Linked DNA regions of Homo sapiens: all the other regions are linked to region 1. Evidence: promoter capture Hi-C in 16 types of primary human blood cells and fetal thymus (Javierre and others, 2016). All regions are on one chromosome and are shown on one strand. Each heading gives the region's core, a stretch centred on a gene start or on the middle of the fragment in contact. The rest is flanking DNA. Distances are from core to core; before and after follow the strand shown.

What was found. The method cuts DNA at HindIII sites, captures the fragments that hold promoters and counts their contacts. A CHiCAGO score of 5 or more calls a contact.
Region 2: the fragment with the promoter of OR5D14 here is called in contact with a fragment that was not itself captured in region 1 in 1 of 17 cell types (neutrophils); the score reaches 5.2 in neutrophils.
Region 3: the fragment with the promoter of OR5D13 here is called in contact with a fragment that was not itself captured in region 1 in 1 of 17 cell types (neutrophils); the score reaches 5.6 in neutrophils.

What each region holds. Positions count from the first base shown.
Region 1 is chr11:55,730,319-55,733,685 of GRCh38, forward strand. No RefSeq gene overlaps it. Among named protein-coding and RNA genes, the nearest start is that of OR5D3, 8.2 kb to the left of the region's middle. The HindIII fragment of the contact is 1,458 bases long and covers 868-2,325 here.
Region 2 is chr11:55,793,999-55,797,365 of GRCh38, forward strand. OR5D14 (olfactory receptor family 5 subfamily D member 14) reads left to right here and starts at 1,558. Exons shown (of 1, transcript NM_001004735.1): 1 at 1,558-2,502. The coding sequence starts at 1,558. The coding sequence ends at 2,502. The HindIII fragment of the contact is 1,368 bases long and covers 260-1,627 here.
Region 3 is chr11:55,771,864-55,775,230 of GRCh38, forward strand. It overlaps OR5D13 (olfactory receptor family 5 subfamily D member 13), which reads left to right and starts at 1,575. Exons shown (of 1, transcript NM_001001967.1): 1 at 1,575-2,519. The coding sequence starts at 1,575. The coding sequence ends at 2,519. The HindIII fragment of the contact is 6,164 bases long and covers 1-2,705 here.

The sequences.
Region 1 (3,367 bases), core at 347-2,846:
GATCCCAGGGGAGCCAATGATGAAATTCTAGTCTAATTTGGAAGGCCCAAGAACTAGAGAGCCAGGGGTGTATTTCCAGTCAGAAGGTCAACAGTTTTGAGACCCATGAAGAGCTGATGTTCCAGTTTCAGTCTATAGGCAAACACCTAATGTCTCAGTTCAAAGGCAGAAAGAGGAAAGAATTTTCCTTTGCTTGGGAGAGAAGTAGCCTTTTGTTAGACTCAGGCATTTACTGATGGACGCGTCCCATCCCCATTAGCAAAGGCAATCTACTTTACTTAGGCTACTGATTGATTTAGTTGTTAATCTCATCCAAAAACACCCTTATAAAAACATCCATAATAATGTTTGACTGAATATCTGGGCACCCTGTGGCCCAGTTAATTGATGCATACAATTAACTTTTATGCACTTGTTCATAATAAAACAAAACAGAAGAAAACAAAAGCTCCCAGAAAAATAGAAATAGAAATGTCTTAATCTTTTACCTACCAAATCTGTAGGTAAATATCACAATTAAGGTTAAAATAATCGGCTAGGTGCAGTGGCTCCTGCCTGTAATCCCAGCAATTTGGGAGGCCGAGGTGGGCGGATCACAAAGTCGGGAGATTGAGACCATCCTGGCCAACATGGCAAAACTCCGTCTCTACTAAAAATACAAAAATTAGCTGGGCGTGGTGGTGTGTGCTTGTGATACCAGCTGCTCAGGAGGCTGAAGCAGGAGAATGGCTTGAACCAGGGAGTTGGAGGTTTCAGTGAGCCGAGATCGCACCACTGCACTCCAGCCTGGAGACAGAGTGAGACTCTGTCTCAAAAAAAAGCAAAACAAAATGAAAAAACAACAAAAAAGAGAAAAGAAATAATAGAAGCTTTGTTTTAAATTTCAACTCAAGAGAAGAATGTTCATTATTTCCACTTCTGTGGAAAGGTTGTTCTAGACAATTGAGTAAGACAGGAAAAAAAGAACATTAGTGAAGACAGAATAACACTTTCATGTTTTAAGATAATATAATTGTATGAACATCCAAATCCAAAAAGATCTATCAAAACCAATTAGAGTTAGTAAGGGAATGTAAAAGATCTCTCAATGTAAGATAATTAACATTTTTTTTCCTAGATCTGTGATATCTGTCTACATCCTTCCACATTGTATTAATCCCAGCATCCCTCAGCTTTAGAGATAGTAGTTCTTTTCTGCAGTAACCACTACTGTGGTATATTAAGGTTTTGTGGGGTTTTTGCCTTTTCATCAATTGTTTAACAATTGTAAAAATAATTTTTCTGTACTAAATGTTATGTTTTGAAATCCCTAGAAAAGATTGTGTTTTTCTCGAATAGACTCAGACTCTTGGTAATAATGTTCTCTGAACTAGACCTTCAAATATGGGTATCTAATCATACACTTGGCCGTGAAGACAGGGCTAAGCATCTTTAAAATAGAAATTGTATTCAGTAATCCATGGTGTATAGTAACGTGGCTAACTAAATAATCCTTTGTGCATGATTATAATGAAGTGCTCACTGAATCAAATGCCTGGAGGACTGAGGTGGGGGTTTCACAAAACTGTCATGGAAGTGGTGGTGATTACAAGAACTGGGATCTTCTGAATGCCTGGGAGAGCTTGCAAAAAGATAATAAAAATTCAGGGCATCCAAATGTTGGCATAATTTACTGTCAGAGAACTAGAGATATTTAAGACACTGGGCAAGTGTCCTCAATTTCTTAGTGAGAAACTGATGTGTCAGAGATGATGTCTTAAATAAATCCTATAAAAATACAAGTATTCTTAACATCAGAAAAGAATTCTTTTGATCTTGTGTTCTGCAGAATGTTGAGATATCCTCTCCAAAGCAAATGACAACTTAGGGCAATTTGTACTGCAATTAAGTGATTTAAAATGTACTGCGTCTTTCAGTTATGGAGGCAACACATATCACACTTGAGTAAGCTGTCGCAAACCATTCAAAAAGTAACCTTCAGCTTGCCTCTCTTGCATAATTCCTTACCAGACACTCTTATTGTCCCACCTCTATCTTTTGAATTTTACTCCCAGTGATTGTGGTAGTCAGCCATACATGGAACCCCCAATGATCCCATTCTCTGGTATTCACATCATTGTGGAGTCTCCTCCCATACTTTACCTGGCTTGGTCTGTGTGATGAATAGCATGTGGTAGGAATGAGAATACATAATACTTGAGGTTCAGTCTTAACAGTCTGGATTCTCTCTCTCTGTCTTTTTCCACCTACATTAGGTCTCTCATTCGGGAGGAAGTGGCCATATTTGAATAACCCTGTGAAGGGACCTTTGGGATGAGGAACCTAAGCTTCTGGCCAACAGCCTTCAAGGAACAAGAGGTGCCAGCAACCTTGTGAGTGAGCTTGGATGCAGAAGTTTGACATTGTTTAAGCCTTGAGATTACTGTAGCTCTGGAAGGCTGGTTGCAACCTCATGGGAGACTCTAAACTTGGAGCTAAGCTGCTCCTGGATTTCTGATGCATAGAAACCATGAGGTAATCAGTGTTTATTGTTTCAAACTGCGAAGTTTTGGGGATACTTTTTAGCTGTCAATGAATAATTAATGCAACTGTATTAGTCAGTTCTCACACTTCTATCAAGAACTACCTTGAGACTTGGTGATTTATGAAGAAAAGAGGTTTAATTGACATACAGTTCACAGGGTGTACAGGAGGCAGGTCTAAGGAGGCCTCAGGAAACTTTCAATCATGGCAGAAAGGTGAAGAGGAAGCAGGAATGTCTTCTCATGGCTGGCAGGAGAGACAGAGTAAAAGGGGAAGTGTACACACTTTAAACCACCAGATTTTCTGAGAACTCATTTACCATCAGGAGAACAGCAAGGGGGAAGTCCGCCTCTGTGAATCACCTACCAGGTCCCTCCTGCAACACTGAGGATCACAATCGACATGAGAGTTGGGTGGGGACGCAGAGTCAAACTATATCAGTGGATTTTTGGTGCCTGGGAATATATTGTTGCCAAATAAAAACCCAAGATGTTAAGGTGGCTTTGGAAATGAGCAGTCAGTTTTGAACAAAATATCATTGAAATCTTAATATGTTTTGGAGGTCTTTGATAAGATTACAGTTTAGAGATTCCAGGTGAGTGAGAAAAATATTATTGGAAGTTGTAGAAAGGAATATTCTTGTTATGTAGGGCAGATGTTTAGTAATGCTATTGCCTATAGTAATTTGAAAAGTACAAAATGTGCCTAATATTCTGGGTTATCTAACAACAGATATTTTCTAAGTGAAATGTTTAAAGTTCTACCTGGTTTCTCCTTGAAGATTAGAGTAAGGCATTAGAGGCAAGAAACAAACTAAATTATTAATGTTGAAAGATCCAGGATT
Region 2 (3,367 bases), core at 308-2,807, 64 kb after region 1:
CATAGGGAATGCCCCATGAGACACAAATTCAGGCTGAGCAAGAAGAAGCAATACAGCAAGGTATGGGCCACGGACATCTGTAGCACTTGATTATGAAATTTACTTGTGTTTTCAGGAATAGGAGTGCTATTGGCTGCTGCATATTTATACCCAGGATGCATGCAGGATAGATTATATCTCACTAAGAGGTGCACTGAATTTTGGAACAGATGAGGCAAGTATTTAAAGTTTTATTGTAATTTGAATTACATGCAAGCAAAGCTTGATAGTTAACTTCATGCTGCATTTTTTTTTCTGAGTAGTTTCAAGGAAATTCCAGTCACTAAATGTGACACAAGAGACTTGGTATTTGCCTTAATTGCCTGTTTTGATGCTTGTAAAGAGTAAGTTGTTAGTGATTCTCCAGAGTTTGAGTCCCTAGGGCTATGAAGTTAAATGAAAGAGTCTTGGTGCCTCAGGTATACACTGTCTGAAGAGACAGGAGGGTGGCAGCCTGTTTCTTTGTATGTAGCAGGTAAGTGTATTCAGGCTTTCTATGAAACTGAAAATAGGGTCTTCCTGATACGGCAAATGGGGCCTTTGATTTTTTAAATGTTAAATCACTGTGTTATTCAATTCTGTGCCCAATAATATTAAAAAATGAGGTCAACACTCATGAAAATATTTAGCCTTATATCCATTGAAAATTATCTCATGATGAATAGTATAAACTTGCTACTTGGAAATGGATATTTATCCATATTTCCTTTATATTCATCTTAAATTAGTGTGTAAATTTTTATAAGATTGAAAACTAGTCAGGCTTAAGGGAACTTTCACCTGATAAATCTTGAGACTCTTATAAGATACTTATGCAATACCTGAGCTATAGTAGATGCTGACCCTTAAGTCATAAACCCCAATAAAATGCCCATTCCACCAAGAGGTCAAAAGTAGGCCATTGTCCTTGTCAACTCCTCAGCAACTAAGATATTCAATGAGAGAAGTAGCCTTTCTAGAATAAAAGTTGGTAAAAAGTGGAATTAGTGTGCTCTTTTTCCAGATTTCTACAATATTTTCCTTTATCCTTAGAATAGAAATATATTCTGAATATTTTAATCAATTTGTCTATATAAACAAATACAGTAGCAATGCATGTTGTTGTTTGATGTAAATATTTTACATTTTCCACAGAATCTTTATTAGTTTATATATTTATGTATAAACATTTTCTATAAGTTATGTGCATGTCATGCTACTAGTTAATGTGTAGACATGTATACTACTGTACACATATACACACACATACACATACACATATATATTCACACATATATATATGTATGAAAACAGAAAGTGTAATAAAAATGGAAAGACACTCCAAAGACTTGGCTTGGTTTGTTTTAGACATAACAGCTGCCTGCATGAGGTATGTTCTTCTTGGACAAAACTAGGACCAGTAACTATTCCTTCTCCTTTTTTCCTTTTAATCAAAGAAAGTCATGACATAATTATCACTCACCCCATATTTTGCTTTGGCAGGAACAATTCTCTTCAACCCTTCCATTAAAAGGAATTATGATGATGGTTTTAAGGAATCTGAGCATGGAGCCCACCTTTGCCCTTTTAGGTTTCACAGATTACCCAAAGCTTCAGATTCCTCTCTTCCTTGTGTTTCTGCTCATGTATGTTATCACAGTGGTAGGAAACCTTGGGATGATCATAATAATCAAGATTAACCCCAAATTTCACACTCCTATGTACTTTTTCCTTAGTCACCTCTCTTTTGTTGATTTTTGTTACTCTTCCATTGTCACTCCCAAGCTGCTTGAGAACTTGGTAATGGCAGATAAAAGCATCTTCTACTTTAGCTGCATGATGCAGTACTTCCTGTCCTGCACTGCTGTGGTGACAGAGTCTTTCTTGCTGGCAGTGATGGCCTATGACCGCTTTGTGGCCATCTGCAATCCTCTGCTTTATACAGTGGCCATGTCACAGAGGCTCTGTGCCCTGCTGGTGGCTGGGTCATATCTCTGGGGCATGTTTGGCCCCTTGGTACTCCTTTGTTATGCTCTCCGGTTAAACTTCTCTGGACCTAATGTAATCAACCACTTCTTTTGTGAGTATACTGCTCTCATCTCTGTGTCTGGCTCTGATATACTCATCCCCCACCTGCTGCTTTTCAGCTTCGCCACCTTCAATGAGATGTGTACACTACTGATCATCCTCACTTCCTATGTTTTCATTTTTGTGACTGTACTAAAAATCCGTTCTGTTAGTGGGCGCCACAAAGCCTTCTCCACCTGGGCCTCCCACCTGACTTCTATCACCATCTTCCATGGGACCATCCTTTTCCTTTACTGTGTACCCAACTCCAAAAACTCTCGGCAAACAGTCAAAGTGGCCTCTGTATTTTACACAGTTGTCAACCCCATGCTGAACCCTCTGATCTACAGCCTAAGGAATAAAGACGTGAAGGATGCTTTCTGGAAGTTAATACATACACAAGTTCCATTTCACTGAACCAGTCTCAAAAGTTGTTTTCAATCCAAATGAACAACCCAAACAGAGGCTACAATGTTTCTAAAGCCTAGAGCATATATTTATATGAGGTTTTTATGGAATTGTCAAATGTGAATTGATATAGCATTCCCAGTATTATCAGGTTCAGAAATCTCTACAAGTTTAGTCCAGTTTATACAAAATGAATGAAAATAAACATTTAATCTGAAAACAATGAGAAACCATATTTCAAAATTATTTCTAACTTTTATATGAATGACTAAATAAACACAAATATTTGGTAACAAATACTATACAAATTCAAGCAACATTCTCCAAATTTTCTCTAAAAAGAAACCTTTCCCCTAGGAACAAAACTAGGGCTTCTTGGAGAAATGGCTAATTTGAAGTCTAGGGTGGAAAATAGGCAAGATGAGCTTTGGGCAATTTAATGCTCCAGAAAGATAGAATACTATCAGCAGCTAATCAGATTGTCTCAAAGAGATATAGGAAGCAATTTGAAATGGCTGATGCTGGTTTATGGTCAGAAAAAACTTTTTAAACATAAAAATGGATATTGATTACAATTGATTTAAAGTCCTCATATAGATTTAAATCTAGGTACTGAAAAAGAAAAAAATAAATAAGCCATTGTTTAATATCAATGGATATTAGGGCACCAATTCATTACTCTGAAAATAAGTAATTAAATAATATATATATTTATTCTATTTTTCCTATATGAATAGTATGTCAGCATCACCTACTGATTAATGAGGTGAATTTCAGAAGAAATAAAAGCATAAACAAGGATGAAATTGGACAATCACAACTGTAGAACTCCACATTTAAAAAATGAATAAAGGTAATGATTTCAACAGACATA
Region 3 (3,367 bases), core at 325-2,824, 42 kb after region 1:
TGGAGCTTGGCACTCATTTCAGGGAAAGCTGAGAAGATGAAAAAAGAAATATACATGGATTTCTGCTGCATCGTCCTATTTTTATTCATGCTTTTTCACTCATAACAAGTCCATTTACTTTAGGTTTTATTATTTTCACTCCCCTGTCTTCTTAAAGTTTGTCTTATCATGAAAGAGAGATAACCGCTTGAGCTCAGAAGTTTGAGAACACCCTGGGCAACATAGTGAGACCCTGTCTCTAGAGAAAAATAAGAAATTATCCTAGTGTGGTGGTGCATGCCTGTAGTCCCATCTACTGAGGAGGATCACTTGAGCCTGGGAGTTCGAGGCTGCAGTGAGCATTGATCTTGCCACTGCACTCTAGCCTGGGTGACAGAGTGAGACCCTGTCTCAAAAACAAGCAAACAAAAATAAATAAATAGAAATAACTCCATATAAACAGTGCATGTTGAATGACTAGATTACAACCTTTGTTTATAATTTGATGTAGCCCACTGATTTTAGATTGGCTGTAATCTTTCATTCTTACCACTAATTTCAATAAAATTGCCTCAAGCTCAAAAAAAAAAAAAAAGAAAGAGAGATTATTTATTTCTTATTGGTTAAGAACATGTGTAATTTTCATTATACAACTTTCAGGGTATCAGAGAATATATTTTGTATGAAAATATTTTTGACAACTACAGATGTTTCTATTTTTCTAACATATTCTGTATTAGCACATATAGAATACATATTATGTGCATACATGTATACATATATATGTATATCTCAGAAGATGTGACCTAAAGCACATCAAGGAACAGGTAATGGAAATTTAATTAATTGACTTTATTTAATAAAATAATAAAAGTTCAGCAAATTGTCAAAATGCCCATAAAAACACTCCAGGAGGCAATGTACATTGATGAAAGTTTTAATGGAAGCTACATAAACATCTTAGAAATGGGCTTCCACAGCAAACTCTTGAGGATTAGGTGCAAGGCATAGGCTATATACATTTTATGGTTTATTTAAATTCTTAAATTCTACAATCATTTAATTCTGTGTTATGCCCAGCAAAGGTAGAAAATAGTAACATTTATGTGCCACCATTGGCGGTGCTAAATCACCTACTTGATCCTCAGTGTAATTTTTAGATCCATGAGAAGGTTTCCTTTGTGCTTCTCAGTTTTTAAAAATTGATTTTATGTCATAATATATATTTCAGTTCTATGTCAATCATACTAAAAATGGCTGACTTTTCAATAATAGAATGATTACTGTATATTTTCCATGTAAGTGGTGGTTTTTGCCCTTTAGCAGGCATCAAAATCACCTGGAGACTTGACTAAACCACAAATAGTGGGCCTCATCCCAGAGCTTCTGTTCAGAAGGTTGATGGAGCTGGAGAATTGGCAATAGTAGGAAGTTCCCAGGAGGTGATGCTACTGCTGGTTTGATGACCACATTTTGAGAATCACTGTTCTATATCACTTGTCCTAGAAACACATGAAGCCTCTTTCCTATCTCTTTTTTCCTATCCAGTTCTGCTTTTCAAGAATAACTTTTTTCCTTTTAATCCAACAAGTATCATGATGGCATCTGAAAGAAATCAAAGCAGCACACCCACTTTTATTCTCTTGGGTTTTTCAGAATACCCAGAAATCCAGGTTCCACTCTTTCTGGTTTTCTTGTTCGTCTACACAGTCACTGTAGTGGGGAACTTGGGCATGATAATAATCATCAGACTCAATTCAAAACTCCATACAATCATGTGCTTTTTCCTTAGTCACTTGTCCTTGACAGACTTCTGTTTTTCCACTGTAGTTACACCTAAACTGTTGGAGAACTTGGTTGTGGAATACAGAACCATCTCTTTCTCTGGTTGCATCATGCAATTTTGTTTTGCTTGCATTTTTGGAGTGACAGAAACTTTCATGTTAGCAGCGATGGCTTATGACCGTTTTGTGGCAGTTTGTAAACCCTTGCTGTATACCACTATTATGTCTCAGAAGCTCTGTGCTCTTCTGGTGGCTGGGTCCTATACATGGGGGATAGTGTGCTCCCTGATACTCACATATTTTCTTCTTGACTTATCGTTTTGTGAATCTACCTTCATAAATAATTTTATCTGTGACCACTCTGTAATTGTTTCTGCCTCCTACTCAGACCCCTATATCAGCCAGAGGCTATGCTTTATTATTGCCATATTCAATGAGGTGAGCAGCCTAATTATCATTCTGACATCATATATGCTTATTTTCACTACCATTATGAAGATGCGATCTGCAAGTGGGCGCCAGAAAACTTTCTCCACCTGTGCCTCCCACCTGACAGCCATCACTATCTTCCATGGAACTATCCTTTTCCTTTACTGTGTTCCTAATCCTAAAACTTCTAGCCTCATAGTTACAGTGGCTTCTGTGTTTTACACAGTGGCGATTCCAATGCTGAACCCATTGATCTACAGCCTTAGGAACAAAGATATCAATAACATGTTTGAAAAATTAGTTGTCACCAAATTGATTTACCACTGAATATGATGTTCTTAGATACGTTATTTCTGAAAAAAGTGATTTACTATCTTACAGATTACCCATCTCTTACAGTGCAATTGATTATTCAAATTATTTAATCAATAGACTATCAGTTGACACATTCACACCAGCACAACCTTTTGAAATAGATCTAAATGACATGTAACTAAAAATTCTAAAACCTAAAGCTTTTATATCATCTGTTGCAGTATTTGTAAATTATTTTAAAATACTTTTCTAGGTATTCTGTAATTTTATGTGTATTTTCAAAGCAAAACTGATTCAAACTGATTAAATGTGTGCAGATTCAGGATGGTTCCCTAAAATTGTAATCAGGAAAACCATATTCCTGAGTGACTTTAACAAAACTTCTGCTTACTGTGTCTTGTGGAACAACCAACCCTTTACTTTTTCTTGTTTTGAATGGAAGAAGTTGATTTTTATTCATGAAAATTATAGCCTGCTGATTAGCAAATGAAATGGAATTAAGTATTACTCTACCTTTCTTAATGCATGCCCTATTTTATTCTAAAAAATTATCTGAGTATTCAGGCAATGGGATATTAAGGTAACAGAGTCCTAAAATGAAGTCACACATATCTGGTAACTTATATTCCAACAAACAGGCCATTATAATTCAATGGAGAAAAATAATAATGGGAAAACTGGATATTCGTGTGGAACAAAAGAGCCATAAGTTTTATTTCCCATCATACAAAGCTACTAACTTGAATTAAATGAAATATATCATAAATCTAAATGTAAATGTTATAAGTACCTTTTAGCATAAAACATAGGGAGAATCTTTTCAAAGTTTGGGTGGAACTTTTTTGGATAGAATGTTAAAA